Regions from separate parts of the Homo sapiens genome. Here regions 1 and 3 are each linked to region 2. Evidence: promoter capture Hi-C in 16 types of primary human blood cells and fetal thymus (Javierre and others, 2016). All regions are on one chromosome and are shown on one strand. Each heading gives the region's core, a stretch centred on a gene start or on the middle of the fragment in contact. The rest is flanking DNA. Distances are from core to core; before and after follow the strand shown.

Region 1 (4,121 bases), core at 548-3,047, 1.3 Mb before region 2:
ATATATAATTTTGTGGGGTTTTATTATACAATTTATAAATGCAAACTATAGAAAACTACAAAATATATCTATGAAAAAAAAGCATTACTATTAGGCCCACCACCCAAATATTACTACAGATCGTTTGTAAATCCTTCTTCCTACCATTTTAGGGGATGTATGTATTTATTAAACAGAGAAGTAGAACAAGAATTACAAACACTTTGTGACCTCTTTTCTCATGTCAAAAATTGATTTTTTTTCTATGCTAGTAAACATTCTTCTGCAATATCGCTTAATGATTACATGGTATGTCAAAATTAATTTATATAACCAGTGACATATTATTAGCAGTACTGTGATCACTACTGGGTGACAAGATCAATTGTACCCCAAACTTCAGCATTATACAACATATCCATGTAGCAAACCTGCACGTGTACCCCTTGAATCTTAAAGTAGAAGTTGAAATTTTTTTTTAAATGCAATTAGGTTGTTTGCTGGTTTTGTTATTACAATCAATGTCTTTGTTACACAATCTTGGCACATAACCATGATTCTTTCCTTAGGATAAATTCCTAAACACAAAAATACTAGATTGAAAGTTATGTAAATTTTGTTTTATTTTTAATTGTATTCGTTTTTAATGTTTAAGTTCAGGGGTAACTGTGAAGGTTTATTATATAGGTAAACTGTGTCATGGGGGTATGCTGTATTGATCATTTCATCACCCAGGTGTTAAGCCTAGAACCCACTGGTTATTTTTCCTGATTCTCTGCCTCCTCCCACCCTCCACCTTGCAGTAAGCCCCAATGTCTGTTGTTCCCCTCTGTGTCCATGTGTTCTCATCATTTTGCTACCACTTATAAGTGAGAATCTGCAGTATTTGTTTTTCTGTTCCTGCATCAGTTTGCTAAGGATAATGGCCTCCAGCTCTATTCATGTTCCTGAAAAGGATGTGATCTTATTCTTTTTTATAGCTGCATAGTATTCCATGGTGTATATGTACCACATTTTCTTTATCCATTCTATCACTGATGGGCATTTAGGTTGATTCCATGTCTTTGCTATTGTGAGTATTGCTGCAATGAATATATGCATGTAAGTGTCTTTATGATACAATGATTTATATTTCTTTGGGTATGTACCTAGTCATGGAATTGCTGGGTCAAATGATATTTCTGTTTTTGGGTCTTTGAGGAATCGTCTCAATGTCTTCCACAATGGCTGAACTAATTTACACTCCCGCCAACAGTGTATAGGCATTCCTTTTTCTCTACAACCTCACCAGCATCTGTTATTTTTTGACTTTTTAATAATTGCCATTTGACTGGTGTGAGATGGTATCTCATTGTGGTTTTGATTTGCATCTCTCTAATGACCAGTGATAGCTTTTTTTCATGTTTGTTGGTGGCATGAATGTCTTCTTTTGAGAAGTGTCTGTTCATGTCCTTTGCCCATTTTTTAATGAGGTTGTTTGTTTTTTCTCTTGTAAATTTAAGTTCCTTGTAGATGCTGGACATTAGACATTCATCAGATGCATAGTTTGCAAAAATTTTCTCCCATTCTGTAGTTTGACTGTTTACTCTGTTGACAGTTGTTTTTAGTTTTGAGTTTGTTTGTTTTTTGTTTTTGCTGTGCAGAAGCTCTATAGCTTAATTATATCACATTTGTCAATTTTTGTTTTGGTCGCAATTGCTTTGGCATCTTCTTCATGAAATCTTTGCCTGTTCCTATGTCCAGAATTGTATTGCCTAGGTCGTCTTCCAGGGTTTTTATAATTTTGGGTTTTACATTTAAGTCTTTAATCCATCTTGGGTTGATTTTGTGTACGATATAAGGAAGGGGTCCAGTTTCAATCTCTGCATATGGCTAGCAAGTTATCCCAGCACCATTTATTGAATAGGGAGTCCTGTCCCCATTGCTTATCTTTGTCAGATTTGTCAAAGATCAGATAGTTGTAGGTGTGCTGCCTTATTTCTGGGTTTTCTATTCTGTTCCTTTAATCTGTGTGTCTGTTTTTGTAACAGCACCATGCTGTTTTGGTTACCATAGCCTTGTAGTGTAGTTAGAAGTAGGTAGCATGATGCCTCTAGCTTTGTTCTTTTTGTTTAGGATTACCTTAGCTATTCAGGCTCTTTTTTATTTCCACATGAATTTTAAAACACATTTTTCTAGGTCTGTGAAGAATGTCATTGGTAGTTTAATAGGAATAGCATTGAATCTATAAATTGCTTTGGAGAGTATTGTCATTTTGAAGATATTGATTCTTCCTATCCATGAGCATGGAATGCTTTTCCATTTGTTTGTGGCATCTCTGATTTCTTTGAGCAGTGTTTTGTAGTTCTCATTGTAGAGATCTTTCACCTCCCTGAATAGCTGTATGCATAGGTATTTTATTCTTTTTGTGGCAATTGTGAATGGGATTGCATTCTTGATTTGGCTCTCAGCTTGACTGTTGTTGGTGTATAGGAATGCTAGAGATTTTTGTACACTGATTTTGTATCCTGATACTTGGCTGAAGTTCTTTATCAGCTGAAGGAGCCTTTGAGTCAAGACTATGGGGTTTTCTAGATATGATTATGTTGTCTGCAAACAGAGATAGTTTGACTTCCTCTCTTCCTATTTGGATGCCCTTTATTTCTTTCTCTTGCTTAATTACTCTGGCAAGGACTTCCAATGCTGTGTTGGGCAGGAGTGGTGAGAGAGAGCATCCTTCTCTTGTGCTGGTTTTCGAGGGGAATATTTCCAGCTTTTGCCCATTCAGTATGATATTAGTTGTGAGTTTGTCATACGTGGCTCTTATTATTTTGAGTCACATTCCTTTAATACCTAGTTTATTGAGAGTTTTTAACATGAAGAAATGTTGAATTTTACCAAAAACATTTTCTGCATCTATTGAGATATAATCATGTGGCTTTTTTCTTTAGATCCACTTACATGACGAATCATATTTATTGATTTGCATATGTTGAACCAACCTTGCATCCTGGGGATGAAGCATATTTGATAGTGGTGGATAAGTTTTTTGATGTGCTGCTGAATTCGGTTTGCCAGTATTTTGTTGAGGATTTTTGTATCAATATTCATAAAGAATATTGCCCTGAAGTTTTCTTTTTCTGTTGTGTCTCTGCCAGGTTTTGGTATCAGGATGATATGGGCCTCATAGAATGAGTTAGGGAGGAGTCTCTCCTCCTCGATTTTTTGGAACAGTTTCAGCAGGAACAATACCAGGTCTTTTTTTGTATATCTAGTAGAATTCAGGCTGTGAATCTGTTTGGTCCTGGGCTTCTTTTTTTTTTTTTTTTTTTTTTGGTTGGAAGGCTATTTTAGGCTGATTCAGTTTTGGATCCCATTATATGTCTGTTCAGGGATTCAATGTCTTCCTGGTCAGTCTTGGGAGGTGTATGTGTTCAGGAATTTAACCATTTCTTCTAGACTTTCTAGTTTATGTGCATAGAGGAGTTCATAATATTCTCTGATGGTTATTTGTATTTCTTTGGGGTCAGTGGTAATATCCCTTTGTTGTGTCTAATTGTGTTTATTTGAATCTTCTCTTTTTCTCTTTATTAGTCTAGCTAGCGGTCTATTTTATTAATTTTTTCAAAAATCCAGCTCCTGGATTCACTCATCTTTTGAATGGTTTTTTTGTGTCTCAATCTCTTCCAGTTCAGCTGTGATTTAGGTTATTTCTTATCTTCTACTAGCTGTAAATTTCTAATTTAAAAAATGCATATGCTAAAACGCTTTCAAGCAAGCTTCATCCAATTTACCCTCCTCTCATTTAAGCACTTTTGCCAATATAGGGTATTATTTGATTTTTAATATTTTATAATTTGATACATAAAAATATGGAATCTCACTCTGTCTCACATCATTCATGTGTAATGTCCTATCTGTGATTACTTGAAAAGTTGAATTTTTTATATTGTAGGCCAATTGTTTGACCTATTTTTTGAATTGCCTGGTGCTGTTTTTGGCCATCATTGTTTCATTTTCTCTGACTTTTTTGTTTTTGTTTTTCTCTTTTTTTTCTTGAGACATAGTGTTAGTCTGTTGCTTTTTTTCTAAATTAGGCATTCTCTTTCCATTTTTCATATATTTGTCACTTTCTTATAGATTTATAAGACTTCTTTTATGTG
Region 2 (3,900 bases), core at 1,360-3,859:
GAGGAAACAGACTGCAGGTACATGCTGGGGGAACCGGGGCTCAGGGCTTCGCCCTGCTATGTCTCTACTCACTCTCTGATGATCTCTCCAAGGGACTGATGGGGCTTTCAGTCCCATGCCTGTATCATGGCAACCCATATTTCTATCTCCAGCCCAGCCCTCTCCAGACCTGTGTGTCTGCCCAATCAATCTCTCCACTTGTTTTTCTAATGAACACCTCAAACCTAAAATATATAACATTAAGCTGTCTTATCCCTCTACCCCAGCATCTTCCAATCTCAGCCAGCAGCATCTCCGTTTTTCCAGCTGCTTGGAGTCATCCCTGATTCCTGTCTTTTTCTCATACCCAAAAAAACAATCAGACAGAAAATCTTATATATATGTAAATCTTCGCCCCGGTTGGAGTGCAATGGCGCAATCTCGGCTCACTGAAACCTCTGCCTCCTGGGTTCACGCTATTCTCTTGCCTCAGCCTCCCGAGTAGGTGGGATTAAGGGTGCACACCATCACACCCAGCTAATGTTTTGTATTTTTATTGATTGATTGATTGACTGAGACAGAGTCTCGCTCTGTCGCCCAGGCTGGAGTGCCGTGGCGCCATCTCGGCTCACTGCAAGCTCTGCCTCCCAGGTTCACACCATTCTCCTGCCACAGCCTCCCGAGTAGCTGGGACTACGGGCACCTGCCACCACTCCCTGCTAATTTTTTTTTTTTTTTTTTTTTAGTAGAGACGGGGTTTCACCGTGTTAGCCAGGATGGTCTCGATCTCCTGACCTCTTGATCCGCTCACCTTGGCCTCCCAAAGTGCTGGGATTACAGGCGTGAGCCACCGCGCCCGGCCTTTTATCCTACTTTCAAAAAACATACCCAGAGTCTGAGTGTTTCTCCTTACCTCCAGCGCCACTCCATGGCCCGAGCTCTGTTTCACCTGGTTCTCACCTGGATCGCGGCCTCCAATTTGCGCAGTGACCCCTACAGTCTATTCTCCAAACAGCAGCTGGCGTGGTCATTATGAAAAGCAATGTCCACCTGCTGCTCAAAAACCCACGAATGGCTCCCCATTTCTTTCCCATTAAAGCCAAAGTCTAAAACATTTACAAAGCGTTATATGATCAGTTCCTACCTGCTTTCCTTATGTTGGAGGCTGTGAAGCTCCTTAATATATAAACAGTTCTCAGGAGAAGGAATAAAAGCACAGCCACCTCCTCAGCAGAGCCAGTTTACACTCTGCTAGAGACAAGAGGAGCTGGGACCTTCTCCCCTAACCCTTACTGCATATGTGAGAGAAGCCAGACCTGCTGGATCGACTGGAAATGCCCAGTGCCTGAGACGGGGAGGAAAGAGAAGCCGTGGGGAGGAAAAGACTGTAAACCTAAAAGGCATTGAAGTCCCACCTCACCAGTTAGGCAGGGAGGAGAAAGAGGCCTAGGGCGCTCGGGAACTTGGAATAAGGTTGCCCTCTGCGGGTGAAACTGTGAAATATCTCACAGTGGAGGAGGGCGGAGACTGTTCGCAGAGGGGCCCGGCGAAAACGTCACCCTACTGGAGGTACGAACGCATCGCAGACTGGGGGCGCCCGAGCGCATCCCAGACGCGAGGGCAAAGGCCCAGGAGGACTGTGGGGCTCTCGGAAGTATCCGATCACCTTGCGAGGAGTCCGCCGGCTGTCCGAGCCTGATGTCACTGCAACTTCGATTCCTCCGACGCCCCTACTCTTACTTCCCAGTCTTCAGGCAACTTCTCCGCTTCGGCCTCCCCTAGGCCTTGGCCCCAGAGAGGGGACGCACTCCACAGGTGGATTCGCACGTGTGGGCCCTCGGCAGCACTTTCTCGTGCAAATTAACAGGTGGCCCTCATTGTGGAAGCACCGCCCAGCCTTTCCCGGGGAGGTCACCAGGGCGAGGCCGCTCAAGGTCTGCAGGCGCCCGGCGTTAGCGGGATCCTCCCCGCGCACTGGTCCGAGGAGGCCAGGAGAGGGCGAACCAGTCCCCGACCAGCGGCCCTTCCGGGGGTGGGCTCTGACCCCACCGAGCGGTTAGAGGGTCCAGGAGCTCCAAAGGGTAGGGCAGAATTGGGTAGATGAGGGTGCATTTTTCTGGGAGGAGTCTAAGGCGTCGCTGACTCTCAAAGGCCCGCATCCGGAGAAAGGGAAAGAGCCCCGTCCCGGGAGGAAGGACGAGAGGCTGGCCCGCGGGAAGGAGCCCTGGCAGTCCCTCCTGGCCTAGGTCTACCTCTTTGATCTCACCGTCCCCGTGGCGGCGAGTGCCACCAAAGATGAGAGAGGCCAGCAGGTATCGGGAGAGAGCTGAGGGGTCGGCGCCGGCGGGACCCCAGATTGGAGCCGCCGTCGTCGGACGGGCAGACCCTGCTGTAATAGCTCCCGGCCGGCCACGGTAGGCAGGTGGGGCCCACCGCGAGTCCTAGTGAAAAACACCTTCCTCTTGATTCTCTCAAAGGAACCCGAGCCCTGGGAAGGGACATCAAGGCGCTCCCGAGACTCCGGAGACGGCCAACAGCCCCAAAAGAGAGTACTCGGCTATCCAGCCGCCCTTATCCAAGCGGAGAATCTCTCTCCACCTCCGCCCTCCCGGGACTCAAAGTTGTTTGTGGAGCCTCCAGGTTTCCTTGTAGATGGGCACGATATGCACTGTGTGCGCGCGCGCGCACACACACACACACACACACACACACACACACACACACGTATATGTATTTTTCCAGTGGCCACTGCAGGATTGCCAGCTTTCGGAAATGAGCATCCGCTCTCTCTCTCGGGACTGGGCGTGGGGTTCACCGAAAGGAGAGGAAGAGACCTTGCGTTTGCGCTGGGCCTGCTCGATGCCAGGCCATTCTAGGCTTCTGTCTATCCTGGTTTCTGGTCTGTGCGTTGTGGGTAGCAGCATTGGCGTATTACGCCGGAGGGAGCAGGCTGAGCGAGGCTCCAGAAGGTGCGCAATAGCCGGAGAGGAAAGGGCGATGCTGTCACCTAGCCCCCTCCCTGAGACTCCATTCAGCCCAGAAAAAGGAGCTGCTTTCTCCCCCATCTACCCTAGGAGAAAATAAACGGTCGCTGGCATTTTCCTGCGTCTTTTAATTTTGCCAGAACTGTTTTGGGTTGGCTATTGTGGGCCAGGATGGAGGCCTTCTCCTCCCGGGAGCAAACCTGCCCACGCCCAGGCCGGCAGTGGAGTCAGCCTTGCCCCAGCCTGCCCTCCAGGGAAACAATGCCCCTTTGTCCCTCGCCCTCCCGGGGCTGATACAGCCCCTCCCCTTAGCTTAGGGCTCCCTCCCGTTAGAGCATTCCAATGATTGCCACAAGTCACACTTTTCTTTGAGGTCTCTGCCTGGGAAGAAAACAAAGCAGCCCTCCTAATCACACGGAGGGAGTGGAACTTTTCCTGCCCTCTGACTATGTGCCAGCCTTGGCTCCTCCCTGAAGCCCTGTCTAGAGGGCTTATTAGGTCACTTATGTTTTGTACCTCGTGTGAAGTCCCACAATCAGTAGATTATAGAGGGGAGCACAAACCCAGCAGTGTCTGACATAGAGAAATTACACATACATACATACACACATACATACATACATACACACACACACATACACACATACATATACATACATACATACATACATACACACACATACATACACACATACATACACACATACACATACATACATACATACATATATACATACATATATATAGTCTTTCCACCACCCAGGATTGAAAATTAATGCTGTTTTTGACATTGTCCGTTATCCACCCAAACCCTCCAAAAAGGCTGGCTGGCATTTGCTTGGCTCTAGTTCTACCTGCCCACCTTCTCCTTTGCCTAATCCTGAGTTTTCCCCTTCCCCACGTGTGTTCCCCTTGAGCACTTTTTTGCTAACTTCCT
Region 3 (3,958 bases), core at 991-3,490, 1.2 Mb before region 2:
TTGAGTTGTAACACATTTCCATCAGAGAAGATTTTTTAAATTCCTGTAAATGTGAAGATCATGATTCTTGTTTTTCTGTATCATGTGACATGTTTGTACATTTTATCTATATCTTCATGGCAAAATATTTTGTTTAAAACATGATTATCTTAATTCCTGTGAAGTGGCACTCTACACTCTAATTAAACTTTTATCTGATGTACATAAAAGCATTATCTTAATTTTTAAGTCTGTAAATATATTTTAAAGTTATATAATAATGGCTTTATAACAGATGACTGTCAAGTGAATGAGCTGTTGATATCCTGTCAGTTTAGTCAAAATATATTGTATCTTAAAAATGTATTTAGACTAACGTCTACATGTATTTTTACGGAATTCCTGTCCAGATCTGTTTATTCTTTTACAGTATTAAATGATTTTCACTAATATATTTTTTACTGCTATCATCTAAATCAGTGGGCCATGGAAGAAACCTCATATATCATTCAGTTCAATCCCATTGCTTCAGAATCAGATCATAGCATATCTATTCTAAGTAGAGGAATGCTTTTTTCCTTTTCTTGAAAGTTTCTCTTTCAAATAGATTTCAGGCCTCTAGAGTCTTTCAACCCTCACATTCAGGAATAATTTTATGTAAATTTTCATGCTTTATAATGTTCTTACTTTTTTCTATTCAATTTTGTCTATATATTGATGATTAAGATGTATTTTATTTATTTTTATCCATAGCTTTTTCCATATAAGTATGTATCTTAGGGTCAGAACTGCTGAAAGAGACAAACTCAGCCAAAAACACTTGGAAAGCATATTTTGGTATCTGCATTGCTTTGCATATCTAAATTTTCCCATAAAGTAATAAAGTAAAATGGTTGCAGAGTGAACAAATGAACCCTGTGTGTTCTATATTTTTAATTCTTAAAAGTGGTATTCTAGTAGGATCTATCCTTTAGATAATTTTTTCTTAATGGAAGTCTTGGTTGAACTTGGATTCATCTATTATGCGACTCATGGCATGGACCGTAGTGTACGTATCCATAAAAAGCTACATTAAGCTCATATATGGAAATGAGTTAATATTTTCTACAATTCATTTCCTGAAATTATCCGTATTATTATTGTAAACAAATGGGGTGGAAAAAACTCACAATTGTGGTAACAGTACTGATGCTGATGTTTAATGTTTAATGAGGAGTGCATACCTTTTTCAAACATTGTGAAATGGAAATTTCACATATCTGTATTTTTTTTTAATTTGAGATGGAGTCTTGCTCTTGTCACCCAGGCTGGCGTGCAATGGCATGATCTCTACTCACTGCAACCTCCGCCTCCCGGGTTCAAGCGACTCACCCACCTCAACCTCCTGAGTGGCTGGGATTACAGGCATGCGCCACCACACCTGGCTAATTTTGCATTTTTTAGTAGAGATGGGGTTTCACCATGTTGGCCACGCTGGTCTTGAACTCCTGACTTCAGGTGATCCACCCACCTTGGCTTCTCAAAGTCCTGTGATTACAAGCATGAGCCACTGTGTCTGCCCTACATATCTGTATACTTATTCATATTTCCCTGGCATATTGCAAAATAATTCTTAACTAAATTCCAAGGAATAAAAATAAAGTCGTAATTGAAAGGTGAAGATGAAGGGACAGTGTCCACAAAAAAAGCAAGGCAGAGTTAGAAGTGACAGTCAAGGAGGAAGGGTAAAGGATCACAAATGATTTATAAAAAGGAAGGCCAGAAGAAATGAAAAAAAAAAAAGGATCTCTAAAGTATCTCCAATTACCTAGAAGCATCAGTTCTCATATGGGACATTACAGACAAGCTTGAGATGGCTGAAGAGTAATCTTAAAATATATCTCTTACTTTTAACAGCATGCAGTTAATTTGTAAATTAAGGCACTAATAATTCCAAGGACTTATCTGGATCAACCATCTTGTTGGCTTGAAGCACTTTTCCTATTGGAACAGCTGCCTGTTGATCATAAAATGCTTATAGGTAGTTTGATGTCTAAGGTCATTGCAACCAAGCATGCTACTTTGTAGGAATTTGGAGAATACAAGAGGCTCTAAGGTCGTGGTAACATTAAAAGAATGGCAAAAAGGCTGTTAGGAAGTGAGAATTAACATGTATTAGGGGGCAAAAAGCAAGTAGTTCATAAGAAAATGGAAATGTTGAGAAATAGAATTAACCTTTACAGGTATTAGGACATATTATTTTATCATTATCATCATCATCATCAATATCATTGATTCAATAACAACACAAAAACAGGTTTTTTTTGTTTTTGTTTTTGTTTTTTTGAGATGGAGTCTCGCTCTGTTGCCAGGCTGTAGTGCAGTGGGGCGATCTCACTCACTGCAACCTCCACCTCCCAAGGTCAACCGATTCCCCTGCTTCAGCGTCCCAAGTAGCTGGGACTACAGGTGTGCACCACCATGCCCAGCTAATTACAAAAATAGTTTTTAAGCTCATTTATTTCACATATCATTTCACATGACTGTAAATTTTTTAGATTTGGTCATTTATTACTACAGTGTTAGGTGCTTTAGTGTTAGGTAGCTATTGATAGCAGAGATGATGAGGAAGACAGAAATGGACAAGTAAAAGGAAAGTAATTCTAGAAAGAAATCACAGGGCTATACAGAAGCTTTAGGGTTATGAAGAGAGGGAACAAAACCATAAGACAGGAAAAAACAAGGGAAAATAAATGTTTATTGTACAGGCAGTTGGATGCAATTGGCCACATTTCCTGACTTGTCTGCTCATATTCAGATGAGTAGATCTATATAGTACTCATTCCCAGGAGGTATTATAGGACTTACTTAGATTCCAGAGTGTTCACTGAGGGATAGACTGCAGCCTTTGAGCAGCTTTGAGCTACTTTGGAGATAGTTTGGCTCCCCCATAACTCCTTTCATACTTGCTATTGAGGCAGCCAGACTAGTGATTAAGGTGGAAGTCAGTCTTTTTTCTTCAACTTTTATTTTAACTTCCGGGATACATGTGTAGGATGTGTAGGCTTGTTACATAGGTAAATGTGTGCCATGGTGGTTTGCTGCACAGATCATCCCATCACCTAGGTTTTAAGCCCAGCATCCATTAGCTATTCTTCCTGATGCTCCCCATCCCCCAACCCAACCACCAACAGGCTCCAGTGTGTGTTGTTCCCCACCATGTGTCCATATGTTCTCATCATTCAGCTCCCACTTACAAGTGAGACGGTGCGATGTTTGGTTTTCTATTCCTGCATTAGTCTGCTGAGGAAAATGGCTTCCAACTCCGTCCATGTCCCTGCAAAGGCCATGATCTCATTTCTTTTTATGACTGCATAGTATTCCCTGGTGTTTATGTACCACATTTTCTTTATCCACTCTATCATTGATGGGCATTTAGGTCGATTCTGTGTTTTTGCTATTGTGAATAGTGCTGCAGTGAACATACATGTGCACATATCTTTATAATAGAATGATTTATATTCCTTTGGGTATATACGCAGTTATGGGATTGCTGGGTCAAATGGTATTTCTGCCTCTAGGTCTTTGAGGAATCACCACACTGTCTTCCACAATGATTGAACTAATTTACACCAACAGTGTAAAAGCATGCCTTTTTTCTCCACCACCTTGCCAGCATCTGTTGTTTTTGTTTTGTGTTTTTGTTTGTTTTTTTACTTTTACCTAATAGCCCTTCTGACTGGCATGAGATGGTATCTCATTGTGGTCTGGATTTGCATTTCTCTAATGATCAGTGATGTTGAGCTTTTTTCGTATGTTTGTTGGCTGCATAAATGTCTACTTTTGAGGGCTGTCTGTTCATGTCCTTTGCCCACTTTTTAATGGGGTTTGTTTTATTCTTTTAAATTTGTTTAAGTTCCTTGTAGACTCTGGCTATTAGACCTTTGTCAGATGGATAGATTGCAAAAATTTTTTCTCATTGTGTAGGTTGTCTGCTTAC

Evidence for each region. The method cuts DNA at HindIII sites, captures the fragments that hold promoters and counts their contacts. A CHiCAGO score of 5 or more calls a contact.
Region 1: a contact is called between a fragment that was not itself captured here and the fragment with the promoter of LNCRNA-IUR in region 2, in 11 of 17 cell types (M2 macrophages, endothelial precursors, M0 macrophages and 8 more). The highest score is 14.7, in M2 macrophages.
Region 3: a fragment that was not itself captured here is called in contact with the fragment with the promoter of LNCRNA-IUR in region 2 in 1 of 17 cell types (erythroblasts); the score reaches 5.2 in erythroblasts.

What each region holds. Positions count from the first base shown.
Region 1 is chr11:96,429,706-96,433,826 of GRCh38, reverse strand. No RefSeq gene overlaps it. Among named protein-coding and RNA genes, the nearest start is that of JRKL, 42 kb to the right of the region's middle. The HindIII fragment of the contact is 3,885 bases long and covers 1-3,739 here.
Region 2 is chr11:95,149,248-95,153,147 of GRCh38, reverse strand. It overlaps LNCRNA-IUR (lncRNA imatinib upregulated), which reads right to left and starts at 2,609. Exons shown (of 3, transcript NR_110303.1): 1 at 1,400-2,609. RefSeq lists a silencer at 1,380-1,489 and enhancers at 2,010-2,139, 1,740-2,281, 2,282-2,823. The HindIII fragment of the contact is 7,632 bases long and covers 1-3,900 here.
Region 3 is chr11:96,349,699-96,353,656 of GRCh38, reverse strand. It overlaps CCDC82 (coiled-coil domain containing 82), which reads left to right. Exons shown (of 10, transcript NM_024725.4): 10 at 1-884. The coding sequence ends at 11. Among named protein-coding and RNA genes, the nearest start is that of MAML2, 8.5 kb to the right of the region's middle. The HindIII fragment of the contact is 826 bases long and covers 1,828-2,653 here.